2 separate regions of the Homo sapiens genome follow, and region 1 is linked to region 2. Evidence: promoter capture Hi-C in human tissues and cell types (Jung and others, 2019). All regions are on one chromosome and are shown on one strand. The core of a region is centred on a gene start or on the middle of the fragment in contact, and the rest is flanking DNA. Distances in the headings are between cores, read along the strand shown. Region 1 overlaps NRAS (NRAS proto-oncogene, GTPase). Region 2 holds the start of CASQ2 (calsequestrin 2).

What was found. Contacts are between HindIII fragments. The study calls those that stand out against the background at their distance.
Region 1: a contact is called between a fragment that was not itself captured here and the fragment with the promoter of CASQ2 in region 2, in 1 of the 25 tissues and cell types used here (adrenal gland).

The regions. Positions count from the first base shown.
Region 1 is chr1:114,710,980-114,713,679 of GRCh38, forward strand. All of the region lies in intron 3 of NRAS (NRAS proto-oncogene, GTPase), which reads right to left. Among named protein-coding and RNA genes, the nearest start is that of NRAS, 4.4 kb to the right of the region's middle. The HindIII fragment of the contact is 7,324 bases long and covers 1-2,700 here.
Region 2 is chr1:115,767,416-115,770,115 of GRCh38, forward strand. CASQ2 (calsequestrin 2) reads right to left here and starts at 1,299. Exons shown (of 11, transcript NM_001232.4): 1 at 893-1,299. The coding sequence starts at 1,126. The HindIII fragment of the contact is 10,019 bases long and covers 1-2,700 here.

The DNA.
Region 1 (2,700 bases), core at 183-2,682, 1.1 Mb before region 2:
ATGGGTGGTGCTCAAACATTTTCTTCAAATAAATTGTAGATGAAGCTGGGCATGGTGACTCCCGCCTATAGTCTTAGCACTCTAGGAGATTGAGGTGGGAGGATCACTTGACCTAGGAGTCCGAGACCAGCCTGGGCAACATGGTGAAACCTTGCTTCTACAAAAAATACAAAAATTAGCTGGGCATGGTGGCACATGTGCCTGTGGTTCCAGCTACTCAGGAAGCTGAGGTGGGAGGATCCCTTGATCCCTGAGAGGTTGAACCCTGAGAGTGTCATGCCACCGCACTCTGGCTTGGGCAACAGAGGGAGACTCCATCTCTAAAAAACTAAAACAGGCCGGGCACGGTGGTTCACACCTGTAATCCCAGCCCTCTGGGAGGCCGAGGCGGGTGGATCACCTGAGGTCAGGAGTTTGAAACCAGCCCGGCCAACATGGTGAAACCCCAAGTCTACTAAAAATACAAAAAAAATTAGTCAGGCATGGTGGTGGACGCCTGTAATTCCAGCTACTCGGGAAGCTGAGGCAGGAGAATCTCTCGAACCCGGGAGGCGGAGGTTGCAGTGAGCCGCGATCGCACCACCGTACTCCATCCAGCTTGGGCAACCAGAGCAAAACTCCGTCTCAAAAAAAAAAAAACAAACAAACAAAAAAAACAAACCTAAAACAAAACATTGTATCTGGAAGCCCAAGCGATAAAATAGAAAACATAAGAACTGCTCTTAGTAAAGGGAGGCTGAAGCATCTAGAACTCCTGACAGCACCCCTTTCAATGACATGTAAGGCACACCACACAGCACACCTGGGAAACAATTGCTTTAGATTGTCTTGACCAACACAATCCAACAGTACTTTATGTGATGATGGAAATGGTCTATATCTGTACTGTTCAACATGGTACCTACTAGTGGCTATTGAGCATTTGGTAGTCAAGGAACTAATTTTTAAATTTTATTTAATCTTAATTAACTGTAAATAACCACATACTGCACAGTACTGTTTTAGTCTCTACCCCTGGATTACCCACAAAGTCATGTATCTGAACTACATTCCACTGGCTATTTGCAAAACTGTGCTTGATGGTAATAGCCTACATTAAGGGATAAGACAGCCTAAAGTACCTGGACCATGTCACTGTCAGGTTACTACTGATTTTTACATTAAACAAGCCTCTTTGAGGATCCATGGGAAAATTTCCTTCTAGTCCGAGCAACTTAACGGCTTTCAGCATACAGATACTGAATCTTTCAGCTGGCTACTTTCCTTTTCACAACAGTGACCAAATTTGTAGTCCACCTTTAGAAAGCCACTGGAACTTCATGCACAATCACAGAATATGCTCACTCCTAAATTTGTTTATTTTACCCTTATTTTTTTGGTCTCACTTAAGCCTATTTTTCATTAATCTTATCTTGCTCTACTATATGCATTTTCATAAGATGTTTTAAATACTCTTTGGTTTGAGCTAAGGCATATAGAAAAATGAATAAATTTCTTGTAAGAAAGAAGAAAAATGACTTCTAGAAATTCAAAAAACATTTATTAGATGCATGCCAAGTGTGGGCATTTTATTAAGTACTGCTATTACTTTTAGACAAAAAAAAAATGGGAAGTACAACAGGTTAGGAAAAGAACACTTGAATTCAGTGTTGGACCAATCTGCTTTTGAGAGCAGACATCTTCACATGGATAGAAAATAAGCCAAGACTCAAGCCTTTAGGCAGAACACTTAAGTAGCATTTACTGTGTGCCAGGCACTATTCTGAGTGATTTGCGTATTTATTAAAACTGTAATCTTCACAACTCTATGAGGTAGGTATTATTATTTCCATATTATAGGTTAGGAAAGCCACATAGCCCCTGAGTCACGTCGCTAATAAACAGAGCTAGGTTTCAATCCAGGCAGAGTTCTCATTCTTAACCATTATATTATTCTGTTTAAGAACACTGTGCTAAGAAAAAGGAGCTTTGGGTTTTTGGTCCTGGCTCTGCTACTAATAACAATCCTGACTCCAAAACCTAACAAACGACATTCTGAACTCTGTTTCTGATTCTGCAAAATAAGAATATTGTACTAGAATTTTTATGGTCCAATCTAGCTTTGAAACTTTATGGTTCTATGGACAAAGTCTATCTTTATGTTCCCTTGCTTTGTTTTCATCTTTATGGACTTCCTATTTGCTTACTCCTATCATTTTATTTTTTATTTTTTTTGGAGACAGAATCTTGCTCTGTTGATTAGGCTGGAGTGCAGCAGTGCAGTGGAGTGAGCATGCCTCGACCTCCTGAGCTCACGTGATCCTCCCACCTCTGCCTCCCGAGTAGCTGCCACCATGTGTGACTAATTTTTTTATTTTTATTTTTGTAGAGACAGGGTCTTGCTCTGTTGCCCAGGCTGGTCTCCAACTCCTGGGCTGAAAGTGATCCTCCCGCCTTGGCCTCCCAAAGCACTGACATTCCAGGTGTGAGCCACTGTGCCTGGCCTATCTTTTCCATTACATACTGAAAGATGTTTCTTGGAGATGTTTTCCTCTCTGAAATTCCTTCGTGATCTCTAATTACAACAACTCTGGTTCCAAGTCATTCCCAGTAGCAAGCTTCACTTATGTATTATCAAACTTTATAGTAACAGTATATTATGTAAAATAAATTCCAGTATTAACTTTCAGTAATTACCCTAGATTCTCAATGTCAAACAAC
Region 2 (2,700 bases), core at 49-2,548:
TCATCAACCTGAGTTCTCTGATTGTGCTGGTTAATAAACTGTAATTCTCAAATATCCCTTTCACAGGTTTGCGCCTGGGCTAGGCGTGGAGACTGATGAGGCATCTTGGTGCCCACTAGCATTCTTGGCACCCTCAGGCCCTCTTAAAGTGTAAGCCATCTTAAGCTGTCCAGGAGGAGCTGCAGGAATAGTTTCTGGGGCACTCGCAAAGGATTAGAAAATGGGCCCCAGTGCCAGGTTACAAACAGGCAGGCCATGTAATGCGGATAAAATAAGAACTGACTTCAGCTCTGCCCTAAAGTCACACCAAGAACTTTCTGAGAAAAAAAATCACATAAATGAATATGCTGCTCAGAAGATCTGCACACAACTACATTCTGTAATGCTGACTGACGCAAAACAAGAGAGAGGAAAGTCATTTAGTGATATTCTCCGTCTGACCCCCAGAGAGACGCAAGGTCAAGTAACTCTGGTCTCTCCAGGATCATGGGGAGATTTGAGGGAGCAAAGTGGGCACACTGAATGAAATCCACAAGTAGTCCCTGGATTTCATTTCAGCCAACAGTTTTAACAATAGTTTCTACATTCTATCTGGGAAACAATGGCTGGGACAAGGGCCCTTGAAAAGTCAAGGGGGCCATAAAGACTTTACATCAGACCCATCGTAGTGTAGCACGTTTGGTCCTCTTCATTTGAAGAGTTAGGACCCACCCCTCATTGTTCACACATCCCAGCTGTGTGACAAGGGCATCTGATTCACGTGAGGCCAAAATAAAGCAGAGTTCAGTATATATTCTCTGCATCCTCGTTCCCATATCCCAACCCCTGGCCAAAGGCATTCCCTCGGCACCTCACTGAGGCAGCGCAGACAGCATGCCCTTTGGTTACTTACCTCAAGCACGATTTCTTTCAGTTGGAACTGTTTTTGCGTGACCTTATCTGAAGACACCGGCTCATGGTAGTAGAGGCAAAGCAAGTCATATTTCTTTAAAACCTGCTTGAAGTTCTTCTCGGAAAGACTTACCACTCGGTCCTTCCCATCATATGTGGGGAAATTAAGCCCCTCTTCTGCCCTGCAAGAGGACAGAAAATAAATCCCCACAATAAACAAGTGAGTTCTCTTCATTTGGGAAAACTTTTGTTTCTCGTTCCCAAATATGCTGTGTGCAGAATAGAGGACAGAAGACTGTTAGAGGCCTTGTTGAGCCAAGGAGAGAGCAGACAGGCTGATTTTCTCTCTTCTTTGCCCTTCCTGGGGCTGAAAAGTGACTCTTCACCTCCTTGGGTCCAGCCAGCTCTGGAATCGTGGGCTCAGGACAAAGAGCAGAGGCACACACACACACACACGCACGCACGCACGCACGCATGAGAGTAGAAAAACAGCCAAGCTAGGGAGGCTGGGAGGCCAAGCCCCAGATACCTTACATAGCTCTGCTCAGCCTCTGTCTCATTAGGAACTCCATTTTTAGGATGCAGTTGTTTCAGGCTAAAAATAAATCATGCAATGAATAAAAAAGTTAGATACGACACTGTAGAGGGATTCGCTGATACAGTCTGTCCGACTGGTGAAGAGGGAAGAGGCAGAAGGAAAAAGACAAGAATGTACACGCATGAAATAAGGAGGCTAGAAAGGTCAAAGAAGAGAAAGAAACTCGAGAGGGAGAGAGATAAGGGACTATGGTGCCAATAAGCAAATGGAGAGTTCAAACATACGGAATGACACTCATACATTACTGAATTGTTAAATCACCCCAGGGTGGTAACTCAGCCTGTCCCCTCACGGTGGTTGTTCATCCTCTGTTCCTCACTGCAACATGGAACAAAATGGAGCCCCGAGGTAGACTTCTTCATGTTCTACTCCTGTCTTTTTCTGCCTTCCCTCCTCTCTTCTTAAAAATCCTCTGCCAGCCACTGGGCGAGGGGTGCAGGGACACCCTGCTGAACCCAGCTGACACCAGAAGAACCTGTCCTCATTAAACTAAAATGAAACAAGGTTCACAGTTCAAATCCCTACTCTGCCTTTTAACAGCTAATGAACTTTGGAGGGTCACTTGCCCTCTCTGATTCTCAGTTCCCCTCTATGTAAAGTGGGGCTGATAATAACCATAAAGTTTCAAACACATAGATGAAAAAGCATGGCACAAAATAGGTGCTCAAAAATAGTAGCTATTATACTTACTTCTCATTGGAGCTGGTGGAACATTGGTTATATAATGGATATTTGTCTGTTTCTAATATGAATGGTTTGTGAACCCTTTCTTGTCCATTTTCTCCTTGAATCCAGTAGGCAATTGGGGCAAAAGGGATCAGGGCTCATCCTACCGCTGAGCTAACAGCAACTTGTCTGAGTTTGCAGCATTTCTAACTGCCGGAGCAAGAATCCAACCCTGCCTCAAAGCTGCTGCTCCTGGCTGTTTTGCCTCTGACTCTGGGTGATTCCCTTGCAGACACCCCTTTTCTTAAGTACCTTCTTGACCATCTCTTCCAGTCCAACCCTAGTCCAGTCATGTCTCTCCACTCTTCAAAGGCATCTAGGGCATTCATGATTCTGACCAAGTTTTTGTTCTCCTTCAGTTATAAATCAGCTTTGGAAAGACAGAGTACTCTGTCATGCACAGCTTCTGCAGGGGCTAGAAGGCAAAGAGAAGATCCGTGGCCTCTCTGAGTAAAGCAAGGCTCCCCTGCAGTCAGACGGCCTTA